2 separate regions of the Homo sapiens genome follow, and region 1 is linked to region 2. Evidence: promoter capture Hi-C in 16 types of primary human blood cells and fetal thymus (Javierre and others, 2016). All regions are on one chromosome and are shown on one strand. The core of a region is centred on a gene start or on the middle of the fragment in contact, and the rest is flanking DNA. Distances in the headings are between cores, read along the strand shown.

The links. Contacts are between HindIII fragments. The CHiCAGO score rates a contact against its expected background, and 5 or more counts as called.
Region 1: a fragment that was not itself captured here is called in contact with the fragment with the promoter of LINC00917 in region 2 in 1 of 17 cell types (endothelial precursors); the score reaches 6.0 in endothelial precursors.

Annotation. Positions count from the first base shown.
Region 1 is chr16:86,417,588-86,424,297 of GRCh38, forward strand. No RefSeq gene overlaps it. Among named protein-coding and RNA genes, the nearest start is that of LINC00917, 75 kb to the left of the region's middle. The HindIII fragment of the contact is 156 bases long and covers 2,443-2,598 here.
Region 2 is chr16:86,341,992-86,349,252 of GRCh38, forward strand. LINC00917 (long intergenic non-protein coding RNA 917) reads right to left here and starts at 3,688. Exons shown (of 7, transcript NR_024406.1): 1 at 3,501-3,688. The HindIII fragment of the contact is 3,722 bases long and covers 830-4,551 here.

The DNA of each region.
Region 1 (6,710 bases), core at 1,271-3,770, 74 kb after region 2:
AACGGTGTCCACCCATGCAGCCAGGCACAGCATGGGGACTCAGTACACGGGGAGCCCCTGACCTGAGTCCAAGAGGTGCACCACGTGGAGGCTGCTGCCCCTTTTCATATTTCCCATTTGGCAGGAAACCTCCATCAGGGAGGGTGGGGACATTAAATATGTTTCTACTTCTGTCTGCATCCTCACTCAATTTTCAAAGCCAAACAAACTGTTAAACCATGGTCTTTCTCATTTTTTTAGCCTGTAATTATATTTAAAAGACTGTTAAAATTTTAAAAAAAAAACATAGTCTCATCCATTTTGGCTTGGAGTAGTCAACATAATCAGATAATCAGCTCTTTGAGAATGAAGGAATTGTCTTTCACTTTTGGGCAAGACCTGGGCACCCAGTAGGTGTTTTATTTTTCTCTATGCACAGTGGTTTTTGAAGAGGCAGAGATCATAGGCTCTGCTGTGCCCTGGTTTTCACCCTGGCAAGATCAAACATACAGAATGTGGGTCACTGCTAAACTTTCTTCCGTTTCTGTGCTTCTGGGGATCAGTTAAAATACGCACTCAGGATACTCAGCACACACAAATGTCCCACAAAGACCAAGTAATACTGACACTACCCTTTAAGACACTCTGTGTAAAAAAAACTGGAAGACACAGAGAGTGGCGCAGCATTTTAAGTCTTCTATTGACCAAATTTGGTCCTTCCTAAGAACTTCAATTAACCTCTCACAATTTATTTACAGAATGGGTAGAAGCTCAATAATGATGATTATGATAATAGTAGCAAAACCAGCACCAATAATATTAGTAACCGCAGTAATAATAAGGATTTCACTAAACAAATACCATGCAGGAGATTTTGTTGGGGGAGTTTTTATAATTCTCACAACAAGTTCCCATCGTGCTGCTTATGACGGAGACAGAACGTTACAAGGTCACCTAACCTCATGAGTCCCAGAGTTGGCAGGCTTTGCTGCCATTGAGTAGCTTACTCTCTCTGAGCCTCAGTTTTCTCTTTGGAAAACTGGATATAATGATTATATTTATGAAAATTAATATGAGTTAGTATATGTAGTGCACTTGGAGTGGTGTCTAGCAACACTCATCATCTTCACCACCACTACCACCACCATCGTCAGTACTTGGTAGCTTTCATCATCACATCATCATCATCCTATTGTCCTCCTCAGTCATACTGCATGTGCTTTAATCTTAGAGTTGATTCTTAAAGAAACAGCAAAGTGTAGCATAAAGAGCGCTGGGCTTGGTATCACGTTGTCCTGGACTTAGATTCTTGGACCTGCCACTCACTGCTTGTTTTCCCTTGGGCAAGTTTATTAAATTCTCTGAGTATTGTTTTCATTCTTTGTAAAATGAAAATAACTGACTTCAGTTCTTAGAGTTGTTGTGAAAATTAAGGGAAATACAGTATGTACAGTATCTAGAATATAGTAGGTGCAAAATAAATGGTAGCTGTGATGATGACAATGGTGATGGTGATAATGTTAGTGATGATGGTGATGATGATGATGGTGGTGATAATGGTAGTGATGATGGTGATAATAATGGTGATGGTGATGATGATGGTAGTGATGATGGTGATGATGATGATGGTGGTTGTGGTGATGGTGATGATGATGGTGGTGGTGGTGATGGTGATGGTGATGATGGTGGTGATGGTGATGGTGATGATGATGGTGGTGCTGGTGATGGTGATGGTGATGATGATGATGGTGGTGATGGTGATGGTGATGATGATGGGGGTGGTGGTGGTGGTGATGGTGATGATGGTGGTGATGGTGATGGTGGTGGTGGTGATGGTGATGATGATGGTGGTGGTGGTGATGGTGATGATGGTGGTGATGGTGATGGTGGTGGTGGTGATGGTGATGATGATGGTGATGATGGTGGTGATGGTGATGGTGATGATGATGGTGGTGGTGGTGATGGTGATGGTGATGATGATGATGGTGGTGATGGTGATGGTGATGATGGTGGTGGTGGTGATGGTGATGGTGATGATGGTGGTGGTGGTGATGGTGATGATGATGGTGATAATGATGGTGATGATGCTGGTGATGGTGATTGTGATGATAGTGATGGTGATGATGATGGTGCTGATGGTGATGATGATGATGGTGATGGTTGTGATGATAATGGTGATGGTGATGATGATGGTGCTGATGCTGATGGTGATGATGACGATGGTGATGGTGGCGATGATGATGATTGGCAGTGATAATGGTGGTGATGATTATGATGATACTTATGGTGGTGATGATAATGTGTCAGTGTGAGCAGTGGTGATGGAGATCTCAAGCAGTCTGACCACCCATCCAGTCCAAACATTTCTCTTCAGGAGACCTGAGATAAAAATCAATCAACATTTGCCTAATATCAGCAAATAACCACAATATATTTTGTAATACTGAGACATAAGACATAATAAGCTTACTGCAGGAACAGTTTGCTGTAATTCTTTTTCTGGGAATTCTAGAAAGCATCAGTGCCTGGCCCTCCAAAACTGCAGGAAGAATGGAAGAGCAGAATTGGGAGCTGGGACACTCACTCTGTGGGAAAAGTGACTCTCCTTATCACCACATAAGCTTAATGGAAGCCAACAAGTCAACCTCATTTGGAAAATTTTTAAAAACCTATTTCTTAAAGTTCCTCAAGGTAGCAAACTCATGAGACTTCCCCTTAAAGATTAACTATCATCTTGAAATTTTGATCTACTTTACAAAAAGTAGCAACATTAAAGAAACTCTTGGGTGAGACACAAAATAACATTATTTTTATTTCTGACCTTTGGGTAAAGTGGAGATAATAATAACACATGCTTTTCTGTATGATTCACATTAGTACTTCCTGTTTCTAGCATAACACACAGTAGGTTCTCAAAAACTAAAGTCTGTCAGATGAAAGAATGGTGAAGTGGATGAATAGATGAAGGAAATTCTTCTGTATATGGCAAATTTGACAATAACATATATATTAATAATAACATGACACTAACTTTTTCTGCCCCTTTCTTCACTAAATGTGATTTTGTTTGGGAATTTTGTTTTGCCTATTTTAATATCACTAACTTACCCCAAAGTTAATTGTAAAATAATATTTATTTCTTTATATAGTATAAATATTTATTATTTATTTATAGGCATTTACTACATGCTAGAGGATTTTACCTGTACTAAGCCGTTAATCCGCACAACAACCCTGTCCAGGTAGGTTATCACAATTATTCTCATTTTACAAATTAAAAAGATAAAGTACTTAATTTGCCCTAAAGATAGAATTTCAGGAGTCCAAAATCACATATGTATTAGTCCATTCTTGCAGTGCTATTAAAAAAACATACTTGAGACTGGGTAATTTATAAAGAAAAGAGGTTTAATTGGCTTACAGTTCTGCAGGATGTACTGGAAGCATAGCGCCTTCTGCTTCTGGAGAGGCCTCAGGAAACTTGCAATCATGGCAGAAGGTGAAGGGAAGCAGGCAAATCACATGGCCAGAGTAGGAGGAAGAGAGAGGGGAGGTGCCACATACTTTTTAACAACCAGATGTCATGAGAATTCACTCATGATCATGATGATAGCACTAAGGGGGATGGTATTAAACCATGAGACACCACCCCATGATCCAGTCACCTCCCACTAGGCCCCACCCCCAACACTGGGGATTACAATTCGACATGAGATTTGGGTGGGGACACAGATCCAAATCATATCAACCTACTTACAAGGTTATTCATTGCAGCACGATTTGTAATAGCAAAAATGTGAAAACTGAAGGCCTGACAACTGGGTGCTGTTTAAATAATTGATGATGCATACGTTGAGTGGAATATAATTCAACTGTCAAAAAATGAGGCAGATATTTATACATTGATGTGGAGGTATGTCCAAGATATATTAAGTGAAAAAAAAACAGCAAAACAGAGAATAGTAGGTAATGTATATTATATGCAGTAATGCACCACATAAAAGCAGACCACATATGGCTGGGCACGGTGGCTCACACCTGTAATCCCAGCACTCTGGGGGGCCGAGGCGGGCGGATCATGAGGTCAGGAAATCCAGACCATCCTGGCTAACATGGTGAAACCCTGTCTCTACTAAAAAATACAAAAAATTAGCTGGACGTGGTGGTGGTCATCTGTAGTCCCAGCTACTTGGGAGGCTGAGGCGGGAGAATGGCGTCAACCCGGGAGGCAGAGCTTGCAGTGAGCTGAGATCATGCCACTGCACTCCAGCCTGGGCGACAGAGTGAGACTGTCTCAAAAAAAAAAAAAAAAAAAAAAAAAAGACCACATATATGACAGCGATCCCATAAGTTTATAATGGAGCTAAAAAATTATAAAGGAGCTAAAAAATTCCTATCCTTGTAGTGCAATGCATTATCTTTTCCATGTTTAGTTATGTTTAGATAGAAAATTACTTACTATTGTTCTGCAATTGCCTACACCATTCATTATAGTAGCATGCTGTATAGGTTTGTGGCCTAGGAGAAGCAGGCTGTACCATGTAGCCTAGGTGTGCCGTAGGCCATACAATCTACGTTTGTGTAAGTACCCTCTATGATGTTCATACAATGATGAAGTTGCCTAACAATGAAGTTCTCAAAATATATCTTGCTGTTAAGTACCAGGTGACTGTATTTTCTTGTGTGGGTTGTTGTTACATCTGGAAGGATACCCAAGAAAATGGTAAGAGTGGCGGCTTCCTAGAAGGGGAACCAAGAGGCTGGGTGGGTTAGTCAGGAGACGCCAGGTGATGCTACAGTAGCAAACGACCCCCAAAATCAAAGTGGCTTAAACAACAGAGGTTGACTTTTCATCTATACAAATGCTCATGGGATAATGGGCATTCTCTGCTCATATATCACTCAAGAATCAAGCCTGCTGGTTGCCACACCTGAGGGTAAAGAGGTCTGGAGGATCTCTGGAGGTCTGGAGGTCTTCCTTGAGCTGACAATAAACTGTGCCAACCTTCAAGGGACATATGTGACTGCTGCTCACAGTCACTGGTAGCGCTTGTCACATGATCCCCTCAGCCACAGGGGGAGCAGGAACTGCAAATCTCTGGGTGCCTAGAAGGTAGAGAGTGGAACCTATTTAGTGAACAGCGTTAATGACTACCACTCTGGGGACAGAAGTTGGAAGGAGAATTTCTTTCCTCCATAAACCCTTTTAAACTCCTGAATATATTAACCATATATGAAATGAAAAAATTTTAAGTACTCTAGATGAGTTAAGTAGCGTTTAAGATAAGCATGTTATAAGCTCCAGGTGACTTGTAGAGACCATACATCCCCCCAGGTGAGAGGAAGGAGAAATCACTGCAGGCAGGGAGTGGGGAGGTCAGGAAAACACAGACCATTTCACTGTCAATGTGCATTTCAGGAGAACCTATTGTGTGCCAGAGCTGTGCTCTGTAATGGGAACGCACAGCTAAATAAGACCTGGTCCCTTCCCTTGAGGAGTTCATAGTCTATTTGCCTGGAAGCCAAGAGACCTGGGTTCAAATCCCATCTCTCCCTGAGTAAACTTATTTTACTTCACCTGTAAAATGAGGCTGAAATACCTACTGTAGAAGGTTACTGAGAGGATTGGCTATACCGCATGACCAAGGGTCTGAACAAACCTTCATTGACTAGGAACCTGTTGGTCCCCCAAGACATCTCGCATGTGCAAACACCATGCACGGTTTCTACCTTTCCTTGAGATGTTCGCGACGTGACAAAGAGATGAAGTCTTACAGACTGCAACCTTCTTCCTTTTTCCCGCTTGCTCCTGTTTTCTTCTCTCTGTTAATGGACCAGCTCTTTGGGGTTAATAGGGCCACTTTTCATCCTGTCGAACCACATCATCTGTGATCTCCCCATTCAATAAATATTAGAATGTATCCATGGGGAATAATCTGCCCGGTATCTTATCAAAACTTTCAAAGCTGTAACTCAGTTCAGATGGGGGGATTTTCAGGCTGCAAAGGGGGAGGGGCAGGAAGAATGTCAGGATCTTGGGACTATCAAGATTTGGATTAGCAAGCAATTTCCTGAGTTCCCCGACTTCATAGATGAGGTCAGAAAGGTCCGTTCTGAATGGAACCCATTAATCTCCCTGTTGTGAGCGAGGAAACGTTGGAAAGCGCAGGTGTTAACAGTCTCGGTGTTATTTTTGGGAGAATGTGAACTGAACACTCGCAGGAAGTGTACTATTCCCTTGCCAGCATCCTGGAGTATTATTTTAGGCAGCAGAACTGAGGCTTGTGAGCAGAAGTCAGGTTTCAACACACCTTTAAGGCAAGAAGGGTACTTCACAAGCAAGAATTTTGCTGCTGTGTTTGGAGGACTTAAAATAATCGATGTGTTCTGCAAGGATGCTCAGAAAGGCCGCCTAGAGAACGCCCTGGTACGGCAACGACCACGCAGCGCCACAGCCACACCTGACTCGGGAATATCTGGACTAACCCTAGTTCTGCGGCCGAGAGGGGCTAACGTACGCACCACCAGCCCCTAGACAAACACAAACGCATGTGAGTTTTAGGTTCCACCGTTGTCACTTCAGCCCAGGGTCAGTAAACATTTTCTGTAAACGGCCAGATGGTAAATATTTTAGAATTTGTGGGCCGTACGGTCTTTGCTGCCATGATTCAACCCTGCCATTGTAGCATAAAAGCCACCTTAGGCAATCCACAAACAAACGGGCATGGCTG
Region 2 (7,261 bases), core at 2,438-4,937:
CACCCAGGATGGGATGGAACTGGGCTGTAGGGTGTGTTAATCAGATTAACTACAACTAGTCAGACTTTTATGCCCTAATTGTAAGAGAAAAGATTAGTTTAGTAAATGCAAGTATCCCATGACGCAAATGCTTTTGGGCCCCAAAGGGCAGCACAGAGCCTTCAAAACTGGACACAATCCCTTCTGACTATTCCTCTCTGTGCATGTCGGAAATAGAGAGCACCGTTCTTGTCCTTCACACTTTAGTTTCTGCTCAAATATCTAAAATCAAGGTGAAGAAACCCTCTCTGTGAGCAAATATGGAAGAGGATTTGGGGATCCCCAGGGGGTGAGCTGGAACCACAGCATCGGTCTCATCTGGGAGTTTGCTAGAAATCCACAGCCCAGACCCCAATCAATCAGAAACTGCAGAGGTGGGGCCCGGAAGTCCATGTTTGAACAAGTCTCTGGGGGACTCTCAGACATGTTGAAGTTTGGCGATAAATAAGGGCAAGCCTAGTTGATATCTAGGTAGGAGATATACATCAGGGGTGTCCTCTTTTGGCTTCTCTGGCTGGGCCACATGGAAAGGAGAAGAATTGTCTTGGGCCATACCTAAAATACACTAACACTCACCATAGCTGATGAGCTAAAAAAAGAAAATGACAAAAAATTTCATAATGTTTTAAGAAAGTTTAGGAATTTCTGTTGGGCCACATTCAAAGCTCTCCTTGGCCACATGTGGCCCTAGAGCCTTGGGTTGGACAAGCTTGATATAGGTGGATCAATAGATACAGATTGACTGATTGAATGAAGCTGGTTTTGGCAAATCGTAGAACACAGAAGCACAAGCTTGAAATTCCCCTCAGAGAGCATTTGGTGGTCTGACCCCCAGAATCTTCCTGGAAAAGAAGCCAGGAGCACTTAGCAGTTGGGACTGAGGTACCAGCCGTCTGCTTCAAGCAGAAGATCTCAACTGTTTTCTATTTTACAAAGGACACATCTTGGGAAGGTTTCCTTAGAAAATAAGGTCCCAGGATGAGATGAGCTAAAAACTCCTAACCCATTCCAGTCTCTCCTCATTTTACAGACAAGGAAACTAAAGCCCAGAGAGACAAACTGCTTCCCTGAAGGTCACACAGCTATTCCTGGCAGAGGCAGGCAGACTGAGTTCATCTGGATCCAGGGCTTCCTGTGTGCGCTGCACCAGCCCTACGTGAGTATAAGAAGGTTCTGGATGGGCTCTCGGAGCCGTCGAGACAATCCCATGCCGGGCAGCCTGATTTGAGCCCCCCAAGGTCCCGGAGCGAGCTTGCTGGGGCCTGCTCAGTCCTCCCCACTTTGGAGCCCACCCCCCATCAGAAACACGGAAAGCCAAGCTGGCACACAGCTGGCGGCTTCAGGTTCCCGGCCAAGTTCATTTTGACATTACAAGACAAAAAGCACAGCATGTTGCGATGGGACTGGCCGTTACTGCGGTGCCATTCAACAGGGTTTACGATTTTCCTGGAGCCTCTCGGCCGGGTGATGCCAGAGAGTAAGCCAGAAAAAGAAAATTCCTAGGTGACGTAAATGCAGTCACGACGCTTGCGAGGGGCATGCACTTTTCCTGCCCCGGGAAGGGGTGGGGTGCGGGGAACGGAGCCATTTTAGATCCAAATAGAGAAAGAGAAAACGAAAAAAAAAAAAAAACCCTGTGCTGTGTATTCATTTCATTGCATAAGATCCTTGTTCACTCACTGGCTTTGTTTTCCAACCAAATGCCTTTGACTTAATAAATGCTCTGGGCAATTAGCAGACAGGGGGCCCCCCATGAAATCATCAGAGCTGAGATCACTCGAGAGGGTATCAGACAGTCAGGACATTAATTGCATTATTTTATTTCCAGATAAAAGTTATTTTGGTGGAGCCAGGCTTGCCAGAGAAGAAGCTGATAAGATCAGATGCCGTCTCTCACTGCCAGATATCCTATTAGGGGTCTCAGCAGACAGGGGATTGGGTGACAGTCCAGATCTGCATGGACAGCAGGAGTTTGTTTCAGGCCAGAGGAAAAGCCCAGGGTGCCTGAGGAGTTCCCTTATGCCATGGAGAAGCAAAGTGGGCTATGCAGGCCCTCTGGGGGCTTTAGATAAAGCGAGTACGCTTCTGATGGCCCTAGCCACAGCAATGGCTTTCACAGGAAAGAAAAAAAAATTCTCTTCTCTTTCTTTTTCAAGAGAGGGACTCTTGGTTCCTTAGTAAACATAGATGCCTGGACTCGGTGCGCAGCCTAAGGTCTCTCTCTCTTGGCAGTGGCCCAAAACGCTCTCCCAAGCAAAAGGGAAAAGAAGACAGAGGGGGGTTGGGGATTGTGTCAGGTAGTGAGCTGTTTCCTGGAGAAGCCTGCGTCTGGTTCCAGAGGGAAGTGAGTTTCTAAGAGAAGGCATCTGTAGGAATTTTGCCCATCAGCCGTGACACCAGCACTGCTGTTGGAGGGATGAACAGCTCATGACAAAGTCCTGTCTCCTCTCTCCCCTTCCCCGTGTCTGTGCAATATCATTAGAACTGGCAGACCCTTATTAAAAACAGTTGGCCACTGAGAGGCTATATCCTGTGTGAGACAGAAGCCCAGATGGTAGGTGGTCTTACTTTTGGGGTGGGGTGTTCCAGGTGGTAACAGCCTCGAGGGCGGGAGGACCATGCCGCCTGTTTCTTGGCATCCGTAGGTGGTTCCTGCCTCCTTCCCTTTGGCAGGTGTGTGGGAAGGATTGAGTGTGAAGGGATGCTCACAAGCACTGAGAAGATGGCCTGGCACTTGTGAAATGACAGAGGTGGCCTGGGAGGTGTCCCGGACCCTGGATTTAATGTGCAACACATGGTTCAGTCGGTCCCAATGTTGGGACTGTAGAGAACGTACCAGAAGCCTCACAGATACTCAAGGAGTCGTGATTATTAGGACTGGGCTGAGTTAGCTCTATCTAGTACTTTGTAATTTTAAAGACCTACTCAAGCAATATTACAATATAAACGGGATCACATGGACTACCTTTCTACTTCAAACAACTCCAGAGGCATCCTGCTGTGGATAACAGAAGCTGATTCTCTTTCTCTCTCCGCCTCCTCCTCGTCTTCCACCTCCCTCATAAAGCATCCCCCAGCACTGACAGGGTACCGTCATAATGATGGTTATATTGAACTATGTGAGTGCCTACTCTTTGCTAACCAAACTAAATTATTAGTTGCATCATTTCATCTCAACTTCACACAGTTATTATATTTTTTCCTTTTTCTTTTATTATGGCAAAGTCTAGTTAATGTAAACCTTGCCATTTTAACTTTTTTAAAGTGAATATTTCAGTGGCATTGGGTCCATTCGCATTATCGCACCACCATCGCCACCGTCCAATTTCAAAACTGTTTCCATCCTGCAGAACTGGCACTTAGTATTCATTACACGACCCCCTCCTGCAGCCACGCTGGGAGCTGACCCTCTCCACCCATGCTTCGTGCACTCAGGCGCTCATCCAGGGATCATCCTGTACCTCAGACTCTGCCAAGAACTGTCCGGCCCCAGGGCCTTTGCAAGCGCAGGTCGCACGGCCTGGGATGCCCTCTCCCAGCTCACCACATGGCTGGCTCTTTCCCATTCATTGGCCTCAGCCCAGTGGCCTCCTTCTCGTCAGAGAGGCCGCCCCTGCCTGCCCTGGCTGGCCGGCCCCTCCCCCACAATGACTCTATGACATCATCGTGTTCCTTCTCCTCGGAGCCCTCAGACCCTCTGAAATCCTCTGGTCTGTGTTTTGTTTCCTCCGTCTCTATCTCTCTCCCCACTAGAAGGCAGGTCTCAGGAGGGCAAGGACCCGGCCTGTCCAGCTTCCAGCCGTAGCCCCAGGGCCGGGTGTGCAGTAGATACTCAACAAGCCTTCTTTCCTCCCACCAGCCTTTCCTCCACAAGGGGAGACAGGACTTGGGGGTGTTTTTGGGGGTCTAAACAACACAAAGGAAAGAGACGCTGAAGTGGGTGAGCTGGCCTCGCACTGCACTTCCTGCTGGAGTTCAAAGTCAGCCCTGCCCCTGGAACTGCCATGGCCAGTTTAGATTGTTCCAGAATCCCGCTGCAGGCTGTTCAAAAGGCTCCCAGCTGCTATCAGGAAATAGCTCAGGAAGGTCCCTGTTAAACACCACCCCCATCCCCGTAACCCTGAGCAGCCCTCCGCCACCTGCTATTTTCTATCTCTGAGAATTTGCTGACATTAGGCAAGTCATGTCTGTGGAATTATACAATGTTTGTCCTTTTATGAGTGGTTTGTTTCACTCGGCACCATATCCTCAAGGCTCACTCATGTCATAGCAGGTGTCAGAACTTCCTTCCTTTTTAAGGCTGAATAATATTCCACTGTATGGATGGACCACGTTTTGTTTATCCATTCTCCTGTCAATGAACATTTTCGTTGCTCTCAGCATTTGGCTGTTAGGAATAGCGCTCTGAGGACATTTGTGCACACGTGTTTGCATGGATTTAATTGTTTTTCCTTTTCTTGCCTGTTCTTGGGTGTCGTGGCCAAGAAGCCACTGCCGAGTCCAACATTGTGAAGCTTTCCCCCTATGTTTTCTTCTAAGAGTTTTGTAGTTTTTTTACATTTAGTTATTATGGTAATGCCTTTGATCCTTTTTGAGTTAATTTTTTGTATCTGGTGTAAGAGAAGGGCTCAACTTCATTCTTCTGCGTGTGGTATTTGGTTTTCCAAATACCATTTTTTGAAAAGACTGCCCTTTCCCCACTGAAGGGTCTTGGCTCAAGACACTTGAATGTCAAATAAGTCAAAGGGCTTCTTTCTGGGCTCTGTGTTCTGTCCCATTGGTCTATCTGTCTGTATGTAGGTCAGGACCACAGTGTTTTGATTGTCATAGTTTTCTAGTAACTTTTGAAATCAGAAAGTGTATGACTTCCAACTTCCTGGTTTGTATTTTTACATTTTATATTTTGTCCCCATTTTACAGATGAGACAAAGGAAGCTCAGAGAGGGGAACTGACTTCCGAGGTCACAGAACAAGCAAGGGTGGGACAGGATTTGAACCCAGGCTTGTTTGACCCCAGCCCCTTTCAACAAACATTTCTGTCTCAGCTTGGATCACAGAGCAAGAAAGTTACAGCCCTTCCCAGCCCCCTTCCTGTCCTGCTGATGAATTCAGCTGGGGTGGCAGCCTCGACACATCTCAAAGGCTCTGATACGGTTTGGCTGTGTCCCCACCCAAATTTCACCTTGAATTGTAATAATCCCAGCATGTCAAGGGCAGGGCCAAGTGGAGATCATTGAATCATGGAGGTGGTTTCCCCCATGCTGTTCTCATGGTAGTGAGTAAGTCTCACGTGATTTGATGGTTTTTTAAATGGGAATTCCCTGTCACAAGCTCTCCTGCCTGCCACCATGTAAGACCTGCCTTTGCCTCTCCTTTGTCCTCTGCCATGAGTGTGAGGCCTCCCCAGCCATGTGGAACTGTGAGTCCATTAAACCTCCTTCTTTATAAATTCCCCATTCTCAGGTATGTCTTTATTAGTAGCGTGAGAACAGATGAGGCTCACTGGACTAGCTGGTGGGGGAGGAGAAAGCAGCCCATGTTCCCTCTCTCAAGCAGGACCATTTTGTTTTCCTCAGTTTCCCTCTTCCACTTCCACTTGGGGACCCCCACAGCCATGGCCAGAGAGAGGGAGCTTGGGGTCCCAGTGCCTGGTACAAACTCACTCTGCCCCTCACTGCCCTTGGGGTCCCCACTCTGTGGGGTCAGGGACCGGGGTCCACAAGGAACTGCTTGTCGCCATCTTCCCACCCCCCACCCCAAAGGGGCTTGAGCATGTTCCCAGGCTCGCTTTCCCCACTGAAGGAGGGGTGGCTGTGTGAGTCCTTCCACTTCATGACCCTCTCTGTTTCCTTATATGTTCAGCAAAGGCTTGACTGAAGTCACGGGTCTCATCATTCCTTTCCTAAGCTTTCTTCAAACAGCATGGTGCGTGGATGAGGACACACGTGCTCTGTAGAAGGTGGGGCCACAAAGCCCTGCCGACCGACCTTTCCTGCCTTCTGCCTCTAAGGTGCAACCCCGAAAGCACCTGCTGGAACCTTTGGGGCTCAGGGAGCACAGCCTGGAAGCAGGGGGATACTCCCCAGGGCTGCAGTCCACCTCGGAAGCTGCTCACCACAGGTGTCTGCTTACACTTCAATTCAGATCACATAAGATACACATGCAGCTCTTAGGCTTCTGAGCCACCCTTCAAGAGCACAGCCACTCGTGGCTAATGGCTGCTGACTGGAACCCTGGATGGCCCAATCTGGAACTTTTCATCACCCCAGAGCATCCTGTGCAGTGCTTCTCCCGGGGAGCCCTGCAGGCAGTGACCTCCAGCTCCGAGCCTGATCCCACATGAGCAGGAAGAAGACAGCCCAGGGAGGCTGCCCACAGCCACAAGCTCATTTCTCATGGCAAACCACAAATGGGAGATGCTAAGAAATTAGAATAGAGGATGCTCCAGAGCAGACGCTCCTGTTTACAGGTACCTGGTTCTATACAGTCACGCATGAAAGGAAAATGGTGATATCTAAGAAACAGAGGAATCCATGGGCTCAACCAATGAGGTCGTAAGGAGCTCTAGGATGGGGGTGTCACAGAGGTCTCACATGTTTAGGTGGGTGGAGAGTTTCAGAGCATGACTGGTTGATAATAACTGGTAGGCACTGTTGGCGGACGGCAACCATGCCAGGCATATAGCAGGGTGCTGCGTCTTCTCTAATTCTCACTGCGGCCAATGAGTTTAGAGATTTTCACTCCCATTTTAGAGATCAGCTGAGACACAGAAAGGCCAAGCAGCTTCCTCAGTCAGAAAAGGGGCAGAGCCAGGGTTCACCCCCTGGCAGAGCCATGCACCAGTTCTGCAGAGCCCAGGACGGGGTGAGGCCAGTCGTGAGGGACAGAGAAAGGCCTAAAGAAAGAGGAGGACAGAAAAAGGGCCCGTGTTGGACAGAGAAGGAGCGATTACTGAGGCCTGAGGTCAGGCTCATGGAGGGCACTGGCCTGTGGTCCGCAGTGGCATTCAGAGCATGCGTTGGTCCTTCCACCACCATGTATAGCTGGTGCCCTTGGAGATTCCATCTGCTTTCCTATGGGGTCTGTGAGGTTGGACTTCGGGAGCCCATTTCATGGACCTGAACACTGAGTATCAGAGGGAAGAGTTTGCCAGGGGTCAGCCTCTGTATCCTCTCTCCCCACGCTACATCTGAGATTCACCCAGAGGGGCCCTTGGGGAAAC